Regions from separate parts of the Homo sapiens genome. Here region 2 is linked to region 1. Evidence: promoter capture Hi-C in 16 types of primary human blood cells and fetal thymus (Javierre and others, 2016). All regions are on one chromosome and are shown on one strand. The core of a region is centred on a gene start or on the middle of the fragment in contact, and the rest is flanking DNA. Distances in the headings are between cores, read along the strand shown. Region 1 holds the start of RRAGB (Ras related GTP binding B). Region 2 has its middle 37 kb from the start of MIR4536-2.

What was found. The method cuts DNA at HindIII sites, captures the fragments that hold promoters and counts their contacts. A CHiCAGO score of 5 or more calls a contact.
Region 2: a fragment that was not itself captured here is called in contact with the fragment with the promoter of RRAGB in region 1 in 1 of 17 cell types (activated CD4 T cells); the score reaches 5.8 in activated CD4 T cells.

The regions. Positions count from the first base shown.
Region 1 is chrX:55,715,999-55,721,935 of GRCh38, forward strand. It overlaps RRAGB (Ras related GTP binding B), which reads left to right and starts at 1,751. Exons shown (of 10, transcript NM_006064.5): 1 at 1,751-2,421; 2 at 3,316-3,349. The coding sequence starts at 2,330. RefSeq lists enhancers at 1,880-2,079, 2,240-2,369. The HindIII fragment of the contact is 6,209 bases long and covers 1-5,674 here.
Region 2 is chrX:55,411,607-55,417,701 of GRCh38, forward strand. No RefSeq gene overlaps it. Among named protein-coding and RNA genes, the nearest start is that of MIR4536-2, 37 kb to the right of the region's middle. The HindIII fragment of the contact is 740 bases long and covers 1,911-2,650 here.

The sequences.
Region 1 (5,937 bases), core at 501-3,000:
GCTCACTGCTTCACAACCTCTAGGGGGAGCATGCAGAGGGGCAGGCTGTGGGGCTCCGACCCCATGGCAACCTCTAGGGGTGAATATAACATTTGGGTGGGAAGGCAGGAGTGCCTATCCTCACCTAGGTCCATGGGCACAGGCCCCAGGGTGGAGCCCTAGCCACGGACCCGCCTTTCTCTGCCCAGCACTTTCCTGCCCCGCTCCTGTATCATAAGCTGGTGCATCTGAATGCAGGGTCTGCAAAACATATCAAACAGTGATCTTAGGTTTTAAAACAGTGATGTTATTCCTGGGAGCAATTTGGGGAGGTTCAGACTCTTGCAGCTGGAGGCTGCATGGCCCCTGAATTGTAATTTCTAATCTTGTAATCTTGTGGCTAATTTGTTAGTCCTGCAAAGGCCGACTGGTTCCCAGGTAAGAAGGTTTTTTTGTTTTTTTGTTTTTTTTTAGTGGGGGGCAGCGGGAGGGAGAAAGGGCTATTATCAATTTTGTATCAGAGTTAAACTATAAACTAAATTCCTTCCCAAGGTTAGTTCGGCCTACGCCCAGGAATGAACAAGGACACCTTAAAGGTTAGATGTAAGATGGAGTCGGTGAGGTCTGATCTCTTTCACTGTCATAATTTCCTCAGTTACAGTTTTTGCAAAGGCAGTTTCAATAATAGTACTCTGTTTCCTGCAGTTTCTCTTCCTTCCTTCCCTTTTTTTCTTATCAAAGTAATATATGTACACACTTACGTGTAAATAATACATGTAGTATATCATATATTAATTATAAATAATATAATTAAACTACACATTTATTTAAAATAACATATTTATAACATATTATTTAAGTATTAGTTGATTATATTAAATATAATTAAATGTCATATTAATCTTATTATTATATATCATTTATACATTATAGAAATATATATAGCACAGAAGGGCTTCAGATAAAAAATAATAGTCCCCTGACATATCACGTCCTATCCCCTACCCCATTCTCCAGAAGGAACATCTTTGAACCCCTCTGGGCATTTTTCCTGGTGTGCATATCCCTACCAGTAGTCTTTCTGTTCTCAATTCTAGACTTCACTTATTTACAGATGGGGTCTCGCTATGTTGGCCAGGTTGGTCTTGAACTCCTGGCCTCAAGTGATCCTCCCTCCCCAGCCTCCCAAAGTGCTGGGATTAAAGGCATGACCCACCACTCCCAGCCCTAGACTTTATTTATTGACTTCTTACTATGGTACTTCCTTCACTTCCTGTTTTAAACAAGTGGGAAGATGAATGTGTGTGTTAAAATTCCTGATGAATCCCTGGTTTCAGCAATAACGATAATTTATACAGTATTTGCTATGTGGAAGACACAGTTCTAAGCGCTTTGGATGTATTAATCATTTAATTACAAACTCGATTGCAAGAATTAACAATAAAAAGCAGGAAGGCAAAGACAATGCTCGGTCTTCCCAGTCAAAAACCATTACCGGTAACCAGCAGTAAAAAAGAGAAGCTCAGAGGCACTGAAATTGCAACCGGCTCCTTTAATTCTCCATAGCGGATGGGTGGGGCCAGGCCCACCCACATTAGAGAGGCTGAAGGCTCCCAGCGCCCTACCCCGCCCGAGGGGCGGAGCCTGAGCCAAGGCCACGTGATGATGACAGACGGCACTCTGGCTTTCCTGGAGCTGTCTCTATGGTATTCTTCCCAGCCCACCCGTCCCTTTGGTAGCGGCAGTCACGTGACAGACTCCGGGGTAAGGCAGATGCCCACGTGATCCTGGCCTGCAGTTGGGTGGCTGCGGTGAGATACCTGGGTTCCTGAAGGGCGGGTGGTTAGGTCGTAACTACTGCCCCCGCCGGCTGACTCTCCGAGCGGCCGGGCTCGGAAGCCACGAGCCAGCTGAGGCGTTCTCCGCTTAGTGCCTACGGCATGGGTCAGCTCTTTCTGCCACCTCCGCCTTCGCGGTCCTCACCTCTTTGCGGGTGAAGTTACCTTTGGGTTTCCAGACCTTGGGGGCCTGAGGCCCAAACTCGGGACGAACCCCTAACCCACCTCTCTTTTCCTGTCATTCTCCAACTCTTACTTTGTACCACGGAATCACTTGGCCTTAAAGCTAGCCAGCTCGGCCGTGCCTTGAGGCCAGGTTCGAGAGATAAAGGTAACCGTGGGGAAAGCGGCCCCCCAGTGGACAAAGGCGGAGGCAAGAATAGAGCAGGCCTGAGGGCCATAGGCGATGAGAATAGGCAGTTGAGGGGTGAAAAAGAAAACAAACAAACAACAACAACAAACCCTGAAGAGTACTGAAGATTTAGAAGGGACTGGAAAGGACTTGTTGCGCAATGGAAGAATCTGACTCTGAGAAAACGACGGAGAAAGAAAATCTGGGGCCGAGAATGGATCCACCACTAGGGGAACCGGAAGGATCGCTTGGGTGGGTGAAGGGTATTTGTGAAACCTGGAAGTGGGGGTGTTCAAATTGAAGAGAGTATTGTGAATTAGAACACTTCTCCCCACCCCGCACCATGATAAATTGCTTTGATTTACCAGTAATGTTGATTGGGATTATGCTTTGGACGACAGGATAAACTGGAAAGCGAATTGGTGCTAACTGATCAGAAACAACCCTTGGGAAGGGGCTGATATTCCTGGTGGTGGTGCTGGGGGAGTGTTCTAATTAAAGCAGTTATGAGTTGCTTTGAATTATCAGTAAAGGAGATTTGCTGTCACCAGGTTGGGGATGGAAAGACTAGAAAGAAGATTTGCATTTCCAGGTCAGAGCTTGAGGGTGTTTTCTGTGCCAATTTGTACCTGAATTTGAGACTTACATCTACTTTGTGTCTGTGATGAGTGAAATAGGGCTTGGAAGGACAGCTGAAGGACTAAAAAGATACTTCCAGATTTTAAAATTAGGAGGCTGAATGTTTTTTATACATAGAAGATATTCAATACTCAGTCCTCAAGTAGAGGATATCAATATATTCTGTTTTTTTAGAAATAGAAGATATTGTTTGATTAAAGCAGCTGTGTTGCTTTGATTAAGATGATGAAAAATTGAATCTTGAATTTTAATGGCTCATTTGTATTCCTAAATAAATCTTCCTAGGAGTTCTCTCTTGAACTTCTAATTAGGAGATAGAGAGTATACACACAGTTTTATAATTTAGGAAAATGGGACCTCTATTCATCTGAGGTCCCACACACACAGCTGTACTCAGCCGTTGTACTAAACATGCTCTTTTGTACCTCCATGTTTATTTATACTTCATTAATTTCAATTTCTAAGGGAATTGGATCATGGAAACTGTTTTTTGGTTTATATCTGCAGGTGGGTGCTACCAAATACAGCCATGAAGAAAAAGGTAAGACGTGTTAGATACGTCAAAACCATGAAGGTAAAGGTAAGAAGTTGATATTCAGGAACTTTGTGACATATATACACCATCTTTTCTGGACTATTGCAGGAGCCTTCTGTGTGGTCTGTCTGACTCTCTTCTCCTTGTATGCTATCAGATTTAATTTTTCTAATATGAAAATCCGACTGAGTCATCTACATACTTAAGAACCTTTAGTAACTTCTTTAAGCCCATGGAATAAAATCCAAATGATTTCATGGCCCTTTAAAATCTGTTCCTGACCAAACCCTGTGCCACACTTATGCACCCTATCACAGCCCTACAGAATTTATTGTTCTCCAGATTTACAAATTAATTTGCACTTTGTGTAAGCCATATACACACACCATACAGGCCTCTGTCTGCACATTTATTTTTAACCTAACTCAAGTGTTACCACTATAAGGTCTTATTGAGTTCTTCAGATAGAATTGGACACACCTTCCTTTGTGCTCTCATAGTACTGTGCCCTACGTTGGGGTTTAGGCAGAATTGCTAAGAGTGCAGCTCAAGCTAATTTCTTAACCTTTTGGGGCTTCAGTTTCCTCATTTGTAAAATGGTAGTAATAATATTAACTGTATCGTAAGATTGTTGTGACGTTTAAATTAGTAAATGCCTGTAGAACACTTAGATCAGTACCTAACATGATTAGCCTTGGTAAGTCTTTCATAGGCAATTGAAAGAGGTACACTGTATAAATTAATAACCGAAGGAAATGTACCATATTTAGCCTTAGCTTCATCTAATAATTCAGTTCTGTAACTACAGTTTGCTAAGAGAATGTTCTTGATGAGCCTGTCTGAAGTTGCTTTCATTGAGAATGCCTAAAAGTACAGAAATTTCTACATGATTAAGAACAAAAATTAGCTTGATTTAATCATTCTGCATTGTATACATATATCAAACATTGCATTGTACCTCCTAAATATAAAGAGTTATTGTTTTTCAATTAAAATTTTAAAGTACAAAAGCAAACTTTTTGTAGCAACTTTAGACTGGCTCAGCAGTGGCATTTCCTTAGTGAGATAAAGTTATATAGCTACATTTTTAGATTAAATCAAGTCTGAGTGTAGTATATTTTCATCAATACTTCTTATATTAGTAATTAGAAATTTGTATAAAATATCTTGGGATTGAAGGTAGAACATAGGTTCCCTTCATTTGAAAAGCAAGTTAAGGCTGGGCACGGTGGCTCATGCCTGTAATCCCAGCACTGTGGGAGGCTGAGGCAGGTGCATCACTTGAGGCCAGGAGTTCAAGATCAGCCTGGCCAACATGGCAAAACCCTGTCTGTACTAAATATACCAAAAAAAAAAAAAAAATAGCCGGACATGATGGTGCATGCCTGTAATCCCAGGCATGGGATGGCTGAGGTGGGGGGCTCAGGTGGGGTGGCTGAGGCATGAGAATCACTTGAACCCGGGAGGCGGAGGTTGCAGTGAGCTGAGATCATGCCACAGCCCTCCAGCCTGGATGATAGAGTGAGACTTGGTCTCAAAAAAAATAAAATAAAAAAGAAAGAACGAAAAGGAAAGCAAGGTAATTGGAACTATATTTCATAAATTCTAGATTTGAAAGGACTCTCAAAAGTCACTTTACTAAATTCCCTTTTAGTACGAGAGTATAGAACATCATTGACGAGTGCTCTCTGTGTGACATGCTGACATTGACAGGAAGGCTGCTTACCTTCATGAGGCTACCTTTTCCCTTGGACAGTTCTCACTGTCAGATACTCTCTTGCTTTCTATATTTGTTTTGATAACTTGCTTGTTCTTTTGATGTACATACTTTGAGCATCTGTTGTATGTTAGGCACTGGAGGTATGAGGGGACTTTCTCTCCCCTTCCAGAGCACAGAGTCTTCTGAGAGAGAAGGACAGACCCCCCAAAATAAGTAACTGCAATGCATTATAGTCTTTGCAATGAAATAACAGTGCCATGGGAGGACAGAGGTAAGACACTTAAGTCAGCCTAGAGCATTAGACTCAGAATATCTTCTTGCAAAAATGATTACTGAACCAAGTCTTGAAGGATAACTGCAATTTAGCTGAAGGAAGAAAAGAGAATGGATAGTTTACTGGCAGAGAGTACTGCGTGAAACAATGGCACAGATGCAGGACCTCCCAGACGGCTGGGAACAATCAGAGGGACTACCAGCAGTTCAATTAAGTGTGGCTGTAAGCTAAAAGTTTCAGGCCAGGAGGGACAGGAGATGAGGGATGAGAAGTAAATAGACTAGATCAAGGAGGGTCTTATATGTAGTCTAAGGACTTCATCCTGCAGGCCATGGGAAGCTTTTGAAAAGAAAAAGGAGGGACAGTAATAAATGGAATAAGAGCATAGAGGTAAGTAGAAGGGATGAGATCAAAGGCAGAGGTGGAAAGATTGACCTTGATCAGAAGGAGGAAGAACTTTCAGTTATGTTGCAATCCTCTACTAGGTAATTCAGTTAACAAAACATTGGGTTATGATAGAACAGGGTTTAGTTTCCTCTAAACTTGGTATTTTTCTAACCTGTTTCTGAACATATTAATGGTGCATCTTAATAGCATAAA
Region 2 (6,095 bases), core at 1,031-3,530, 300 kb before region 1:
CTGCTAGGTTGCTGGTTTTCACAGGTACTGTAGCACTGGGGCTATTACTTTCCAAGGATACCATGAGAGTAAAAAGTGGGGGATATAATAAGGGCAAGTTAAAACTCCATGAAGTTCACATTTCTTGTTGAGTTTCAACATTTTTCTTGAATAAACACTTCTCAGTTATTACAAATATTTAGCTAATTTCCAGTTTTGAAAATTTTGTTTGACATATTTTACCAGTGTTCTTGTAGCTGTTATGGGAAGATTTTTTCTTGTCATTTCAGATGGCCCTGTCTTTTCTAATTTAAGTGGAGATTTTCTTGGTTCCAGGTATTGTAAATGATTTTTTATTGAAACCTGGGCATTTTGGGTGCTATGACGCTATGGACCTTATTTAAATATTTTTTCTCCCATGCTGTCAGGAAAAGAGGGGTGCTTCCTCATTTCTTCCATATGGGAGTGGAATTCCAGATTCTCCACTTGACCTCTATTAATATCCAGTGGTAGAGGCTCATTCTTACTGCCGAGTGTAGGTAGGCAGTTGATGCTCTTTCTTGTGAAGAAATAGATAGTTTTTATAGTCCTACATATTAGTAATAACTTTCCTAGAAAGGACACTCCAGGCCCAGAATTCTACCAAACATTTAAGGAAGTAATAACACCAATTTTCCACAATCTACTCCAATAAAAGAACAAGAGGAAACACTTTCCTACCATTCTGTAAAGTGAGCACTACTCTGATACAAAAATAAAACAAAACGAAGTTTACAAGAAGACATCAATATATATTGTGAATATAGATACAAAAATCTTTACTAATATTTTAGCAAATCATATATAGATGTGTGCATGTGTATATATATATATGCTATATATATTATATATATACACATACACACACAAATCATATGTTATGTTTATTTTATTTATTTGAGACAAGGTCTTGCTTTGTCACCCAGGCTGGAATGCAGTGGCATGAGCACAGCTCACTGCAGCCTCAACCTTCTGGGGTCAAGTGATCCTCCTGCCTCCACCTTCTGAACAGCTAAGACTACAGACATGTATCACCATGCCCAGCTAATTGCTTTAAAATTTTTGGTAAGATGGGGTTTCACTTTGTTGCCCAGACTCGTCTTGAACTCCTTGGCTCAAACAATCTTCCTTCCTTGGCCTCCCAAAGTGCTGGGATTACAGGCATGAGCCACTGCACCTGGCCTAATAATATTGTAGGTTATAACCACATGGGGTTTATCCCAGGAATGCAAGGTTCATTTAATATTTGAAAACTGATCAGTAGCATTCATCATATTAACAGTCTAAAAAGTACAGTCTATATGATCATCTCATTTACTGCAGAAAACAACATTATACAAAATCCAAATGTTCATGATAAAACCTCTCGACAAACTAGGAATAGAACAAACTTCTTCCTGGTAAAGGGCAACTACAAAATACCTATAAGTACCATCAGACAGTGCTTCCCCTCAAGATTGAGAGTAAGCCAAGGAAATCTTTTCTCAAAACTCCCATTTGAATTTTTACCATAGATGCTAACTAATGTAATAAGTCAAGTAAAAAAGGGAATACAGATTTCTTTTAAATAGAAAAACTATTTTTCTACTTTTAACATATTTTAGACAACATGATTGTGTATGTATTTAAAAAAGATACTAGAACTAAAAATTAGTTTAGCAGGGTTGCAGAATACAAGGTCAATATGCATAACTCAATTGTATTTCTATATACCAGCAACTATCTGAAAGTTAATAATATAAAAATACCATTTACAACAGCATCACAAAACCAGAAATACTTTGGGGTAAGTTTGATAAAATATGTACTCTGAGAACAAAACAACATTGTTTAGAGACCTAATTAAAGAAGACCTAAATTGATTTGAGAGTCATATGGTTTTCTTGCTAGGAAGCTTTTTTTGTAGCTATTGACAAGATGATTCTAAATTTTATGCACAGAAATTATAAAACATTAGTGAGATATATAAAAGAAAAACTAAGTAGGTAGAGAAATATACTACATTCACTGGAAGGCTCAATGTTGTTAAGATCATTTATTCCCAAATTTATCTACACTGTCAACACAACCCAGGTGAAAATATTAGCAGGTTATTTTGTTGAAGTTTACAAGACTGCTAAAATTTGTTTGTAAATTATATGGATCTCTAACTGACAAAATAATTTTGAAAAAAAGAACAAACTTGAAAGCCTTAAACTACCAGATTTCAAGACTTATTATAAAGCTACAATCAAGACAGTGTGATACTGATATAAAGAAAGACATATAGAACAGTGGAACAGAAAAGAAAGTTGAGAACTAGATCTAGAAATAGTAAGATCAGATCAAATTATCAACCATGCAAATAAAAGAATTACTTGGGGCAGGGAGTTAGAGTCAGTGCTATAAAAGCACAGTCAAGTTGTACATTCCCAAAGTACTTTGGTATGTTTATTTTGCACATAAAATTGACAAATAAATTTAATCTACTTGTTTCTATGCAATATGTAGTCCTAATTTGCAACATGTGTTTTTAAAGAATCTTCAATTATGGCTTTAGTAGATATCCAGCCTAAGACAGTGAAGAGTGATACAAACTAATTCAAATTAATGATTTAAATCAATTCAAAGTATTGGCAATAATATTAAAATAAGCTTAGTTACAGAAGTATCTGACAACTGTTATATCTCAAAATTTTGCTGAGATTTAGCATTTTCTCAAGAGATTAATTGCCTAAATGGTAATATTTACATCAAGTTAAAGATGTCAGTTTAGGCTTCCCCAATGAGAGTTAAACGCCAACTGAATAATTTTGAATCCTCTCTGTCTGGAATTGTGCTTAGCTAGTCAAACCAAAAAAGATTATGTTTCACTTTACATATAATTCAAATTGATTATGACTCTGGCTGATGAGCACCATTTCAATACCATCTCACTTGTATATATGATAATTTCAGATAAGAAATTATAATTTCTAAACACTATTCTAACTTTCTGAGATTAAGACTAATGAATGTGAACAGCATTTTTATTTTCCACTAACTGTAATTTGGGGTCTCCATTGGGTCACTTGGGTTATAATAATTGCATCTGATTTGCCACAATTGTGTAATCTTAAAACATCTAAAATTTAAAAAATAGACAACAGAGTGAGTATCCTTAAAATGGGGAGTTGCTGTCCACCAGTTATATAGTATCAGTTACGCAAGATGAATACATTCTTAACATCTGCTGTACGACATTGTGCCTATAGTTAACAATACTCTATTGTGCACTTAAAATGTGTCAAGGGGATAATCTCATGTTTAGTGTTCTTAACACACACACAGACACACAGGCACACACACGGACACACACACACACACACACACACACACACACACACACACACGAGAGGGGGGAAAAAGCATCTGTAACACCAAGAATGAGTCTCCAAAAGAGAATCATCCTTTGTTTAGAGAGAAAAATGCTTTATGTAACTTCTTACTAACTGGAATTGTCCTATACCCAGTGATATATAAATTATGACCTGAATATTTAGAAAAATTCTGATATCCAATATTCTTCCTCCTGTCCATACACAAGGTAGAAAATTACCTGGAAATTTTATTAGTATGTCTCTCACATTCAGAGATAGCATAAAAATCTTTGGCAGTTCATATGTCCTAACTTTAGATTTACATTATATGTTTACTAGAGTTAGCACTGAAGAACAAGTTAATTTACATCATCACAAAGATATCTTTGATATCTGTCTCAGCTTCTTTGGTAGAAATTGACTTCTCATTAAACTTGCCTGATAAAATACAGGATACCTTGTTAAATTGAATTTTAGCTATATGGTGAATATTTTAGCATAATTATATCCTGATTATCACAAGAAGCTTATTTATACTATAAAATAGTTGTTTATCTCTGTCAATTTGGGTTGATGACTTGTGAAGGATTAAGATGATGAATATAATGATTGAGTGGGTTCTACTTACCACTCTCTACTACCTAACACATTTAGCCTGTGATATAATTGTGATCATGTCTACAATGAGATGAAGTAAACAGGAATATGTGTTTGAATAAGTTAACAAGAATGAAATTCAGAGAAATAAAGAAATTAAAAATATGAAAGAGAAATTAAAGGATATGGAGAATATGGTATGCAGGTTGTACACTCATCAAATTGTAATGTCAGAAATAGATAACAGAAAGAATAAGAAATAGGTGATATTAAAAATATAAAGGCTGAGAATATTTCAGAAATTATGAAAGAAATAAATCCTCAGATTCAGGAAGTCTAGTAAACCCCACATAGAATATATAAAACTAAATTCACACCTAGACTTATTATAATAAAACTACAGAAACCCAAAAACAAAGATATGTTCTAAGCAGCAAAGAATATGTAATTATCTACAAAAGAATTACATTTAACCTCTTAGATGACATCTCAATAGGAAGAGTAAAATCTAGAAGACACTATAACATCTACAAAGTGATTTAAAAAAATAAGGATTTGGGACAAGATGGCTGACTAGAAGCAGCTAAGGTGCATGCCTCTCACGGAGAGAAACAAAAGGGGCAAGTAAATATAGCACCTTCAACTGAAAAAACCAGGTACTCACATTGGGACTAATCAAGGAAACAACTCGACCCACAGAGAAAGGAGAAGAGCAAGACAGGACAAGAGCCCACCTGGGAGTGACACAGAGCCAGGAGAACCTCCCCAACCCAGGGAAGCAGTGAGTGAATGATTGACCCCAGGAAACCATGCTTCTGCCACTGATCTTTACAACCCTTTGGTTGGGAGACCCTCTTATGAAGACAACCCACCAGGGCCTTCAGGCTGACACGCAGTGTGAAATCTCGGCAGAGTAGCCACTCAGGCTTGCATGGAGGCCCAGGAGCTTTACATACTCCAGCTCCGGGCTTCCTGGCAAAAGTGACTGCAACTCAGGCAAGGCAGGGGGTTGAACCTCCGCACATATCTCTAGGAAGGGGGCTGAGTAGCAATGGTCTGTGGGCCCCACTTCCACTAAGCCTCCCAGGATAAGACCCACTGGCTTGGAATTCCAGCCAGTGTCACCCATACCTGGGACAGAGTTCCCAGGGGGAGGGGCGGGCCACCATCTTTGTTGTTTGGGTAACTCAGCCATTCCAGCCTGCAGGCTTTGGAGAGTCCAACCAGGAGCAGAAGGGATCCCTAAGCACAGCACAGCTGCTCTACCAAAACATGGCCAAACTGCTTCTTTCATCAGGTCTCTGATCCATTCCTCCTTACTGGGCAGGACCTGCAATCTGGACTTCCAGCCACTCCCACTGGTGTTCTCTGACTGATAGAGATTGGAATCCTCCCCGGGAAAGAGTTTCCTGGAGTAAGGGGTAGAATGCCATCTTTGTTGTTTGGGCAACTCAGCTGTTTCAGCCAGCAGCCTTGGGAGAGTTCAAACCAAAAGAGGGTGGAAGCAGTATTCTGGAACAGCACAACTGCTCTATACAAGCATGGCCAGACTGCTTCTTTAAGCAGGTATCCTATGCCATTCCTCATGACTGGGTGAGACCTCCCAAACAGCATCTCCAACCACCTCCTACAGGTGCATTTGGGCTGGCAACAGTTCTGTACTTCCCTGGGACAGAGCTTCCAGAGCAGGGGGCAGGCTGCCATCTTTGCTATTTCACATCCAAAGGTCAGCAACCTCATGGACTGAAGGTAGATAAGCCCACAAAAATGACAAAGAATTAGTGCAAGAATGCCAAAAGTTCAAAAAGCCAGAGTGCCCTATTTCCTCCAAATGACTGCACCACCTCTCCAGCAAGGGTTCAGACCAGGCTGAAGCTGAGATGGCTGAAATGACAGAAGTAGAAATCAGAATATGAATAGGAACAAAGTTCACTGAGCTAAAGGACTACATTGTAACTCAATACATAGAAGCTAAAAATCATGATAAAACATAGCAGGAGCTGACGGACAAGATAGCCGAGAGAGAAGAATGTAACTGACCTGATAGAGCTGAAAAACACATTGGAAGAATGTCATAGTGCGATCATAAGTATTAATAGCAGACTAGATCAAACAGTGGAAAGAATCTCAGAGTTTGAAGAC